Linked DNA regions of Homo sapiens: region 2 is linked to region 1. The links are contacts of gene promoters, found by promoter capture Hi-C in blood cells and fetal thymus (Javierre and others, 2016). All regions are on one chromosome and are shown on one strand. The core of a region is centred on a gene start or on the middle of the fragment in contact, and the rest is flanking DNA. Distances in the headings are between cores, read along the strand shown.

Region 1 (5,996 bases), core at 1-2,500:
ATATATAAAATCACTCCACCCCTTTCCGTTCACCTGCAGGCTTGCTCTGTCTCTCAGGCTGGAATGCAGTGGCAAGATCCTTGCTCACTGCAGCCTTGACCTCTTGGGCTCAATTGATCCTCCCACCTCAGCCTTCCAAGTATCTGGGACTATAGTAGTCCGACACGGCGGCTGGGATTCAGGCTGGCTGGGTCATTTTGCTTTTTTTTTCTTTTTTTTTTTTTTGAGATGGAGTCTCCCTCTGTCGCCCAGGCTGGAGTGCAGTGGCATGATCTCAGCTCACAGCAACCTCTGTGTTTTGGGTTCAAGCAATTCTGCCTCAGCCTCTTGAGTAGCTGAGTAGCTGGGACTACAGGTGTGTACCACCATGCCCAGCTAATTTTTGTATTTTTAGTAGAGACAGGATTTCACCATGTTGACCAGGCTGGTCTTGAACTCCTGACCTCAGGTGATCTGTCTGCCTCAGTCTCCCAAAGTGTTGGGATTACAGGCTTGAGCCACCGCACACCGCCAAGGGTCATTTGCTAATACGATCTTTGGATACCTCTTCTCCTGGGAGGAGGTCTAGTCTGGTGCATCCTGTCCCATGAAGTCTGGTTTAATCTCTTGGAATTCAGTTGGACGCTCAATTTTGGAAGGTCTCCATGTCTGCAGGCAAGGGCATGTAGCCTGTGTTTAAATTCAACACCCAGACTAGGGTGGGGATGGATTGGCATGTTGATCTCATTTTGAGAGTATTAGTACAGCTGAAGAGATTTTGCCAGTTGGAGGTTGGAGCCTGAATTCTTTCTGTCGGGCGGAGAGCACTTTAAGGCATTGTTCCACCTCCGCTGGCCCTATTTCTTTTTTCTTTTCCTTTCTTTTTTTTTTTTTGAGACGTGAGATGGAGTCTCGCTCATTGCCCAGGCTGGAGTGCAGTGGCACGATCTTGGCTCACTGAAGCCTCCGTCTCCCGGGTTCAAGCGATTCTCCTGCCTCAGCCTCCCAAGTAGCTGGGATTACAGGCACGTGCCACCATGACCAGCTAATTTTTGTATTTTTAGTAGAGACGGGGTTTCCCCATGTTGGCCAGGCTGGTCTTGAACTCCTGTCCTCCCAAAGTGCTGGGATTACAGGCATGAGCCACCGTGCCCAGCCAATTTTTGTTGTTTTAATTTATTTTCATCCTCTGACATTTGGATAATGTTTTCCATGCTTTCTATTTCAAAGTTAAGGTAAAAAATTTTTACTTGCATGAACTTAAAAAAAATTCCATTGGAAACTGATTGGGCAGATTTGAAAATTAAGCTTTCACAATCACAATTTTTATGAGAGTTCATTCAGTTTTGGAGAAGTCGAGGAAAGAATTGGGAATTGAAATTTTGATGTGGCCTGATAGGATCAGGTGGGGCTTTTGATAGGAAGTGAGTGTTTTGGGTTGTTTCTTGACTGGATTATGATGCGGAATACAGCGGGTAGAGGGCCGATTAAGTTTTAGTCATTAGTGTAGCTTTTCAGTATACACGCCTTTTCATTTTCAGTCCCTTTCAGAAGAAAAGACCACAGGCATCAGAAATCAATCAACTTGCTAATTTATGCCAGATTCCACTGGAGGTAAGCTGATTTTTTTTTCTCCCTGAAAACCAAATGTCTGGGTTTTGTTTGTTTGTTTGTTTTGCATTTTTACTTAGTTTCATTTTTCTACCTCTCCTATTTGCTGGAATAAGCTAAATATTTTACATTGGTAGTTTAGATTTTTTTTTTAGTTGTCATATTGAAAAGTGATGCTCCCAGGACACTCAAAATTATTTTCGTGGCCCTCCAGTCCTTAGCATTACTGCTGGCCCACAGCTACTTCTAAAAACTTTTTATTGACAAATAATAATTGTGTTTATTTATGGGGTACAATGTGATGTTTTGATACATGTTTACATTGGGGGGATGATTAAATCAAGCTAATTAATCTATTTTTGTGGTGAAAGCATTTACAATTTACTGTTTTTTAAAATTATATATATTTTTTGTGCTAGAATTGGACTCCTCAAACTTTAATAAACATTAAAGTTGTGCCCGGCAAGTTTATTCTTTTTAAAAACATATTTACTTATTTAAAACTTTATTCCTGGCTGGTGTGGTGGCTCATGCATGTAATCCCAGGATTTGGGGAGGCTGAGGGAGGAGGATTGCTTGAGCCTAGGAGTTTGAGACCAGTTTAGGTGACATAGCAAGATCCCTTCTTTACAAAAAATAAAAAGTTAGCTGATGTGGTAGCATGCACCCATAGTCTTAACTATTCAGGAGGCCAAGGTAGGAGGATTGCTTGAGCCAGGGATTTTTAAACTGCTGTGAGCCGGGATCACATCACTGCACTCCAGCCTGGGTGACAGAATGAGACCCTGCCTCAATAAAATAAAATAAAAAATAAAAACTTTATTACTTAAACATTGAGACAGAGGTTTCACTATGTTGCACAGGCTGGTCTCAAACTCCTGGGCTTGGCTGGATGTGGTGGTTCACGCCTATAATCCCAGCACTTTGGGAGGCTGAGGCCGGCGGATCACTTGAGATCAGCAGCTCGAGACCAGCCTGAACAACATGGTAAAACCTTGTCTCTACTAAAAATGCAAAAATTAGCTGGGCATGGTGGTGCATGCCTGTAATCCCAGCTACACGGGAGGCTGAGGCAGGGGAATCCCTTGAACCCGGGAGGCAGAGGTTGCAGTGAGCCGAGACTGTGCCACTGCACTCCAGCCTGGGCGACAGAGCAAGACTTGGTCTTAAAAAAAAAAAAAAAAAAGTAACTCCTGGGCTCAACTGATCCTCCCACCTTGGCTTTCCAAAGTGCTGGGATTATAGGTGTGAGCTGCCACGCGTGGCCAAAATCTACGCTTTTGGCAAAGAATTACCAATGATCCAGCTGTCCCGCTTATGGCAAAGCTGAAGGGCTATCTGCATCCCATGTTCACTGCGGCGTTATTCGTCACGACCACAGCTGCTTCAGGATTCATGGTTTCTGCTCTCGGCCTTCCTTACTGTGCTCTAGCTGATCTGATGCTTGCCTCATTGTCTTTGCACAGGCTTGTTTTAAAGGTGCTGTTGAACTGCTGTTTAGCTTTCTCTCTCTCTCTTTTTTTTTTTTTTTGGGACGGAGTCTCGCTCTGTCGCCCAGGCTGGAGTGCGGTGGCGCGATCTCGGCTCACTGCAAGCTCCGCCTCCCGGGTTCCCGCCATTCTCCTGCCTCAGCCTCCCGAGTAGCTGGGACTACAGGCGCCCGCCACCACGCCTGGCTAATTTTGTTTTTGTATTTTTAGTAGAGACAGGGTTTCACCGTGTTGGCCAGGATGGTCTTGATCTCCTGACCTCGTGATCCGCCTGCCTCGGCCTCCCAAAGTGCTGGCATTACAGGCATGAGTCACCGCGCCCAGCCAATTTTGTATTTTTAGTAGAGACGGGGTTTCACCATGTTGGACAGGCTGGTCTCGAACTCCTGACCTCTGGTGATCTGCCTGCTTCAGCCTCCCAAAGTGCTGGGATTACAGGCGTGAGCCACCGTGCCTGGCTTGCACTTTCTTCTTTGAGACCCAGTCTCAATAAATAAACAAACACAAAAAAACCAAAACAAAAAAAAAAAAGACCTTCAGAAGGGGATCACTGAGGTACAAGTCAGGGCTTTTCTGAGTGGGTTAGGGAGAGCTTTTATCCAGGGTGTGGAGCATTCTATGCTGGATGATCCCCAACTTCCAAAGCGAATTCTGCTATTTCATGGTTCTTTTCCATTTTCCCTCAGATCTGCCTTCCCAAGACTTTACTGACTGGTGAAGAACAGGAAATGAACAATTCCCAGGTGAGCTTTTCAAAAAAATCTAAATCTCATAATGAATAAACGTATGACCCACGTTCCTCTTGCTCAGAATTAACTGTGCTAACCTTTTGGCATATTTTCCTCCTTCCTTCCATACTTCTATTAAAAGGTAACACACACTCTACTTTCTGCTTTCCTATTAAAGCTGAAACATTTCAAGTAAAGCTCAAGGCTGGGCATGGTGGCTCACACCTGTAATTCAGCAATCTAGGAGGCCAAGGCAGGCGGATCGCTTGAGTTCAGGAGTTTGAAACCAGCCTGGGCAACATGGCGAGATCCCGTCTCTACAAAAAATTAGCTGGGTGTGGTGGTGGTGGCGTACACCTGTAGTCTCAGCTACTCTGGAGGCGGAGGTGGGAGAATCGCTTGAACCTGGGAGGTTGAGGCTGCAGTGAGCCATGATTGTGCCACTGCACTCCAGCCTGGGTGACAGAGCATGACCCTGTCTCAAAAAAAAAAAAAAAAAAAGCTTGGTTACGGAAACACCAGGAGTTTGGTCTAGGTCCTGCTACTGGCTGCACAGAAAGCCAATGACTGAGACAATGGGTATTGCCAAGGAAGAAGCTTTAATCAGCTGCCGTAGGTGAAGAAATGGGAGCTCAGCCTCAAATCCATCTCCCTAACTCACTAAAACTAGGGGTTTATACAGCATGGAAGAAATATAACAATGTGTAAGAAAGCAAGACTAGGGAGGGGGCAAGGAGACATCTGTTGTGGTGAGTTTCAGTTGTGGTGAGTTTCAGTTGATTTTTTTTTTTTGAGGGAGTCTCGCTGTGTCACCCAGGCTGGAGTATAGTGGTGCAATCTCAGCTCACTGCAACCTCTGCCTCCCAGGTTCAAGCGATTCTCCTTCCTCAGCCTCCTGAGTTGCTGGGATTACAGGTGTGCGCACCACCACTCCTGGCTAATTTTTGTATTTTTTGGTAGAGACGGGGCTTCACCATGTTGGCCAGGCTGGCCTCGAAATCTTGACCTCAGGTGATCTGCCTGCCTTTGAGAGATCTGAAGGTCTTTTCCTGAGGAAGGAACTCAGACAAAACAAATACAGGTTTCAAGCTTTAACAGCGGAAGGGTCAATTTCTATGTTTATCCAAAAAACAAAAACAAAAACAAAAACAAAAAACAAAAAACCCACAACTGTCTATGGGATTACTGGGCTGGTTTCAGCTCAAGCATCTTTGTTTTGTTGTTTTTTTTTTTTTTTTTTTTTTTGAGACAGTCTCCCTCTGCCACCCAGGCTGGAGTGCAATGGCTTGATCTTGGCTCACTGCAACCTCCACCTCCCAGGTTCAAGCGATTCTCCTGCCTCAACCTCCTGAGCAGCTGGGATTACAGGCGCACGCCACCACGCCCACGCCCGGCTAATTTTTGTATTTTTAGTAGAGATGGGGTTTTACCATATTGGTCGGGCTGGTCTCGAACTCCTGACCTCAGGTGATCCACCCGCCTCAGCCTCCCAAAGTTCTGGGATTACAAGGGTGAGCCACCACGCCCAGCCTCAAGCATCTTTTGACCATTGCTCTTACAAACCTGGTCCACTGCTAAGCCCTGAGATGTAACAGTGTCATGTGTGTTTCACCCCAACCTATTTTTTAAATGATTGGTGTCTTGAATGTGTGTCCTCTCCCAACTTTGTTCGGTGTGTATTTGAAACAAATTCTGTAAATCCACACAATAAACTGAAAAATCATTAACTAGTACCAGTCGGAATCAAAGTAAATTATGGATAGCTGAAAGACCAAGGATAAGTTGTATGCAGTTAGGCAGATAGTAGTTTCTTTGCAATTGTTAAAATTAAGCCTGTTGACCAATTTCCTGTTGACAGGAAAGGCATACTAAGGCTGGGTGTGGTGGCTCACACCTGTAATCCCAGCACTTTGGGAGGCGAAGGCAGGAAGACCACTTGAGGCCAGGAGTTCAAGACCAGCCTGGACAATATAGTGAGACCCTGTCTACAAATAATAAAAAATGAGCTTAGCATGGTGGTGCATGCCTGTAGTCCCAGCTATTCTGGAGGCTGAGGTAGGAGGATTGCTTGATCCTGGGAGGTTGAGGCTGCAGTGAGCCATGATCATGCCACTGTACTCCAGCCTGGGTGGCAGAGCAAGAACCTGTGTCAAAAATTTAAAAAAAAAGGCCGGGTGCGGTGGCTCAT
Region 2 (6,893 bases), core at 3,943-6,442, 900 kb before region 1:
GCAGGAAGACCTTGCCACACTCGGGGCACGGAAAGGGCCCTTCCTCGCGATGGGTCTTCTGGTGCTCGATGAAGTGGGTGACCCAGGTGAAGACCATCCCACAGTCGGCACACTGGAAGGGCCGCCCACCTCGGGGCCCACGCGGCACTACCGAGATGCCTGCAACAGCCTCTTGGGTACCACCTTTGGTGTGCTTGAGGGATGGCTGGTGGCGGCCGCTCTGGTCAGTGTTCCTGTTTCTCCTTCGGGGACTGATTCTCTGAGCACTTGGACCCTTGGGGCTCGAGATCACAGTCCCTTCTGCCCGCAGGTCTGAGGAGGGCCCTGCGAGAAGGTCCTCAGGCTCGTCCCAGATACTCGGCTTCAGAGGCAAGCGGGCCCGGGACCCTGTGGAGGGCGAGGGAGATGGGTCACCTGTAGTGAGTGGATGGCCTTGGCATCTCCCTGTGCTCCCCAGGGGCACGGAGGACCCCAGTGACTGAGCCAAGTCCAGGCCCTTCCTCTGCTCAATACGGCCCCTGTGTCCTCCGTTCTGTCCTTTAAGATACAAGGGCACATGTGGCCGGTGCAGTGGCTCATGCCTGTAATCCCAGCACTTTGGGAGGCCGAGGAAGGTGGATCATGAGGTGAGGAGTTAGACACCAGCCTGACCAACATGGTGAAACCCCGTCTCTACTAAAATACAAAAATTAGCTGGGCGTGGTGGTGTGCGCCTGTAATCCCAGCTACTCAGGAGGGTGAGGCAGGAGAATCGCTTGAACCCAGGAGGCGGAGGTTGCAATGAGCCAAGATCACACCACTGCACTCCAGCCTGGGCAACAGAGCAAGACTCTGTCTCGAAAAAAAAAAAAAAAGGCACATGTTTTGGGAGCAGATCCCACAGCACTGGCCCTTGTTCCTACCTGGCTGGCCCTCTGGGTAACCCCGTGCTCCAACACTCTCAGACTGTCTGCCTTGGCTGCCGTTCAGGTGCGGAGGCTGAGGCCCTTCTCGTAGGGTGAACGATGTACATGGTGGTTCTAGGGGCCCCAGATCTCAGTCCTCACAGGAGGTGTGCATGCTTTCTGGGGGAAGTGTGGAGTTCACCACCGAAGCACCCAACTCAACCCATTAACAAAGTCTGTGGCTTTGGGTTGAAGTCCCAAACTCCATTTCCAACCCTTAATCCACACAGGAGCCAGACTCACCCAGCAAGCCAGGGGCGCGGGGCGCTTCGGCCTCCGCCCTGGTGTGCAGACTCTGCTGGAGCTGGGTAGTCTCCAGCCACTCACTTTCCTCGGGGAGTGCTGGGGCTGCTGCCACTGCATCCAGAATCAGCTCAGACGCCTAGAATGGCAAGCACAGGACTGTTCGGCAGCTGCCCCTCAGGAGCCATCCTCCCCACCACCACCGAACAACCAAGGAACGGGCGTCATCCCCAAAGGCTCTGTCCCAGGGCAGTGCGCGGTGTCGCGCCTGTTGTTCCCGTGCTTTGGGATGCTGATGCTGGAGGATTGCTTGAGGCCAGGAGTTTGGGACCAGCCTGGGCAACACAGCAAGACTCTGCTTATACAAAAAATAAATAACCACTCCTAAAGAGCTCTTAACAGGACCTGAGACAGAATTCGAGGGGCCCCTGTACAAAATGGAAATGCAAATCCCCTTGTTCAAAGATCGTTGATCATTTCAGGACAGTGACAACAGAGCATTAGATGGAGCCAGGGGACCTGTGCCACAGCTCGGGTCACTGTTACAAGCTGGGGCTCCTAACTCCCGTCCCCCAAGGCTGCACTGTCCTTGCCCACAAGCCCAGAGGAAGTGGGCGACTTCACAGACTTCACATCCCACCTGCGACCTATGACCTCTGATGCACCTAACCGTGTCCCGCCCAAAGCGGGGATCACCACTTCCTGGGAGGAGACTGAGCTGTGGTTGAAGAGCAAGAATTCGAAACAGAGGGGCTTGGCTTGGTGTCCAGGCTCCAGCCCTGCTTGTTGTGTGGCCCTGGATGAGGAGCTTTAGCTCTCTGGGTTTCCAGTGAGGATGTGGGTGCTACGTGCCCAGAGCCTGGTACCATCAAGGGCTCGGCAAACTGCAACGGAGTCGTGTCAAAGGAAAACACAGTGACACTTATCAATGCAAATCAGGTTGTTGGAGGAGGTATGTTGAGTCAAACAAAGCATCAGAAAAGACCAGGAGTCAAGCACGCACTGACAAGGTCTGTCTTGAGTGGGTCTTCGCTTTCTGCTGCCCCAACCCTACCTGGATGCACAGGGGCCTAAGGAAGCTGTCCAAGATTCCCAATAGCTGGGCAAAACTGGAGTAGAGGGATTGCTGGGCTAGAGACGGAGGAGGGAGGGAGGGAGGGAGGGAGCTGATGGCAGGAAGGGAGTTAAGGCACAAGATTCTTCCTGCTCTCACGTTGGGAGTATGTGGATGGTGTGTTTGGCTGGGTTATTGATTTTTATTTCTTATCAAATGCTAGTTTTGATTGTAAAACATGTTGAATTCTGAAATCGTAACCAGAGGAGCCACCATCTATAGGAGTAAAGGCGGGACTCCCTTTTACGCCTCTTCCTGGTACCTGGCTACTGGGGGCCATTGTGGACAGTCAGGCTCTTCCCTACTTCACCCACCTTGGCGTCTGTGACTAATCAAGGGCAGCAGAGGGGCTGCGTGGAGAGAAGAGTGGGTGGCATGTATGTGTGGAGAGAGGGGCATGCTTAGTTCCCCTGACTCTCAGGGGGCATCAGAGGAGCTATCGACACACTTGGGTCAGGCACAGAAACCAAGACATTCCCGGGGCCCTATCTGTACCTTCAAATGCAAACACATCCCCATAGCCCCGGTGAGCCACTGGCCACAGATCTGGGTTCTTATCCTTCCAGAGGTGGACCCAGGTTTATTGTTTCAGGGATGACAGGTGGGGAGATTGGAGGCGGGAGGGAGATGCATGTCACACCCTGGGAGAGTCCTGATGCAAACCAAGCAACCAAGAAAAAGAAAACAAGAATAAGGGGCCAGGCGTGGTGGCTCACGCCTGTAATCCCAGCACTTTGGGAGGCAGAAGCGGGAGGATGAAGAGGTCAGGATATCGAGACCATCTAGGCCAACATGGTGAAACCCCATCTCTACTAAAAATACAAAAATTAGCTGAGTGTGGTGGCGTGCACCTGTAGTCCCAGCTACTCGGGAGGCTGAGGCAGGAGAATCGTTTGAACCCAGGAGGCGGAGGTTGCAGTGAGCTGAGATTGCACCACTGCACTGCAGCCTGGCGACAGAGCGAGACGCCGTCTCAAACAAAACAAAATGAAACAAGAATAAAGGAGGAAATATGAATGCCTGGCAACTTACTGTTGTTGAGGAATTATCTTAATAGCTCTATTTTATTTATTTATTTAGAGACAGGGTCTCACTCTTTCGCCCAGGCTGGAGTGCAGTGGCGCAATCTTGGCTTACTGCAACCTCCACCCGCTGGGTTCAAGCGATTCTTATGCCTCAGCCTCCCGAGTAGCTGGGACTATAGGCACGTGCCACCACACCCAGCTAATTTTTGTATTTTTTGGTAGAGACGAGGCTTCACCATGCTGGCCAGCCTGGTCCTGAACTCCTGACCTCTAGTGATCCACCCACCTCGGCCTCCCAAAGTGCTGGGATTACAGGCATGAACCACCGTGTCCGGCCAGGAATTATCTTAATGGTTTTAGTTGGGGCAATGGTGCTGGGTTATTTTGGAAAAAAAAAAAAGGAAAGAGTGGAGCGACATCACCAAGATGGTGGAGTAGGAGATACCAACCTTCATTTCCCCCTCCCACTACCCACACACAAATCAACTACAGACAGATATTCACAAGCCAGAATAGCCCAGAACGCTCAAGGACCCATTGAAGATCTGCAGCAACACAGTGGAGTAAAGTGAAAAAACCCGAGAATGCCCACAAGAAAAAGCTCACCGGTGAGATAATGCATACCTGAGATGCCAGGAGATCGCTATGCACAAAGAAGAAAAGCAGGGGCCACGAGTATCAGCTACGCGGTGGGAACCACCAGGGACCCCAGCAGTGTGTTCCACAGAGGACACTGGCATCACTTACCACTGAGGTTCCAACAGTCATTCCCGCCAGGGCCTCAGGGAGATACGCCCATGGGATCTCAGGGACCTTAGAGTGCTACCCTCAAAGGGCTTCGGGCAGCTACCCTTACAGGCTTCAGGCAGCCCCTCCCCATGGGGTAATGGTGTTTCAGTCAACAATGGACCACACACACCACAGTGATCTCGTAAAATTATAATGACTCTCTTCCACCACCATTTGAAATCCAACTCCGTAGCATAAGCTGCTGCCTGACCCTGAATGTGCACCAGCACCCCCCGCCTACAACTTCTCCACCAGCAAAGACCTGAATGAGTACCACAACCAATACAGAGGAAATCGCAGAGGGATCCAAGATCTGCCGGATGATGGTACAGTGTTACAAGCAAAAAGATCTGACGATGTGTCTTGACTTAGGGAAGTTGCAGATTGCACAGTTAAAACAGTTACTGGAAGATCAAGGGGATTTGTATCTGTGCTTTTGGAAAACGCTGCTAGTGCTCTTAAGGCCTTGGAACGGAAAGAACAGGAGCTGGATGGCAAATTGATAGGATCACCCCCCACCCCTGCTGCAAAGAGCCAAAGCTTGAAAAGGGAAAGAACCCCCCGAAAGGTTTTCGTGGGTGGATTGAGCCCAGCTACTTCTGAAGAACTAACTAAAGAATATTTTGGAGGCTTTGGGGAGATTGAAAATTTTAAAGGCCAGGCACAGTGGCTCACACCTAGAATCCCACCACTTTGGGAGGCTAAGGCTGAGGCTGGAGAATTGCTTGAGAACAGGAGTTCAAGACCAGTGTAGGCAACATAGCTAAGTCCCAACTCTACAAAATTAGAAAATTACCAGGCACTGTGGCTCAAGCCTGTAATTCTAGCTGAGATGGGAGGATCACTTGAGCCTCGGTGGTCAAGGCTGCAGTGAGCTATAACTGTGCTACTGCACTCCAGTCTGGGTGACAGAGTGAGACCCCGTCTCAAAAAAAGGTAAAAAGGGCCGGCCTCGGTGGCTCACGCCATCATCCTGGCACTTTGGGAGGCCAAGGCAGGTAGATCACTTGAGGTCAGGAATTCGAGACCAGCCTGGCCAACATAATGAAACCCCATCTCTACTAAAAGTACAAAAATTAGCCAGGCATAGTGGCGTTTGTCTGTGGGGCAGGAGAATCATTTGAACCCAGGAGGTGGAGGTTGCAGTGAGCCGAGATCATGCCACGGCACTCCAGCCTGGGCAACAGAGCAAGACTCCATCTCAGAAAAAAGAAAAAGAAAGTAACATGGTCTCGCTCCATCGTCCAGCCTGGTCTCCAACTCCTGGGCTTGGCTTATCCTCCGGCCTTGGCCACCTCAAGCAGTGGGATTACAGATGAAAACTTGGCTCAAACCACATCATTTACACTTACCTACATGCCCCAGGGCAGTTAGTATACTAATTAAGAAACACAGCTTGAAACACTTGCAGGGTTAAAGCTATAAAATGTCTATACATTGATTTTTTTTGAGAATTCATAAATATTAAGGATCTAAAACAAACTTCTTTCTCAAATAATTGAAATCTGAAAGGCTTTGGAAGCCAACTGTCCCTGCACAAAGGTTTACAATTGAGAAATATCTCCTGTTCCTATTTTGTCAAGTTTCTTTAATGGCTGAACAAAAAGAAGCTTCAAGTAATGGAGAAGGCATCGTCTGAGCGCAGCTGCTTTCCTGGCTGCCTGTGCCATTCCTATGTCTTCCAAATCCTATGCTTGGAGGCCCCCGGAGGGACATTTTTACCAGGAACCAACCTGACCTTAAAAATATGAGTGTGACACAGCCGGCTGGGCAGGAGGGTGGAGGTGGCCACAGGACACTGCCTGCCCACGCCCTCGCCAGCCCGACCATGCTGCCGAGTGCAGGGAGGCCACCCCACCCAGAGGGCACAGGGTAAACCCTAAGCACTGCGGGTGTTGCCCTTGAAGCCCCAGGGGATGCCCTGTGCCTCGTCTTCGTGCCTCGGTGACCAGCCTGCTTGTTAAAGGACCCCAGGGGCCTGAGCCTGCAACACCACAAGGGGTGAGAAGGGTATGCTGCTGTGGGTGCACTGGACTCAAACCTCACATTAGAAGCTACAAAGAACCCCAAATGTGCTTCAGAGCCCCACCAACCCGAGCCAGGCTCATCCCTGACACAGTAAATCCACTGCAGCCCCCGTGGCGCGCAGCCCAAGCACCACCCAAGGGAGTCCCATGGCTAGGGCTACGTCAGAGTTGCGTGGCTTGGGTCAGAGATGGCTCTTGGGGCAGGCCGACCAGCGTGGGAAAACTCTGTGCCAATCGACTGCTTAAAGAATTGGGGGAAAATAGAAAGTTAAGAAAGAGCTCCGATACACAAGGAAAACTGCAGGTGAGAACCGGCCCTGCCAGCAGGGAGACGTCACTCTCCAGAGGCCACAGAGATGGCAGATACCTCTGTCTCCACAGTGACCCAGATCCAACTAAAAGCATGCAGGAAGACAGGTCTATTGATGCTGAAATCTAGAAAGCAAGGTCCACAGGTGAATGGAGGCATCTTCAGCCCTGAGGGGGCCAGGCTGTGTCTCCTGACGCCTCTGAGGGTGGGCGTAGCAGCCAGCTCCGTGTGGGCAGAGTCCATGTGGTCCTCATTCTCCTCCCTGGGCACAGGGCAGCACAGTCAGACACTGAGACGTGAGGCCACACACAGGGGGGCACCTTCCTGCCTTGGCCCAGCCGCCTCTGGAGCCAGGAGGCCGTGGCAGCCACACCACAGTGTGGATCCAGACAGGATTCTGTGGAGGGATTCTGGGACTCCAGACAGATTGAAGCTCCGTGG

The links. The method cuts DNA at HindIII sites, captures the fragments that hold promoters and counts their contacts. A CHiCAGO score of 5 or more calls a contact.
Region 2: a contact is called between a fragment that was not itself captured here and the fragment with the promoter of ZIM3 in region 1, in 1 of 17 cell types (non-activated CD4 T cells). The highest score is 6.5, in non-activated CD4 T cells.

Annotation. Positions count from the first base shown.
Region 1 is chr19:57,140,456-57,146,451 of GRCh38, reverse strand. It overlaps ZIM3 (zinc finger imprinted 3), which reads left to right and starts at 1,250. Exons shown (of 5, transcript NM_052882.1): 1 at 1,250-1,593; 2 at 3,767-3,823. The coding sequence starts at 3,809. The HindIII fragment of the contact is 22,671 bases long and covers 1-1,289 here.
Region 2 is chr19:58,046,923-58,053,815 of GRCh38, reverse strand. It overlaps ZSCAN1 (zinc finger and SCAN domain containing 1), which reads right to left. Exons shown (of 6, transcript NM_182572.4): 5 at 1,188-1,326; 6 at 1-387. It also overlaps the pseudogene LETM1P2 and the pseudogene HNRNPDLP4. Among named protein-coding and RNA genes, the nearest start is that of ZNF135, 8.9 kb to the left of the region's middle. The HindIII fragment of the contact is 1,070 bases long and covers 4,658-5,727 here.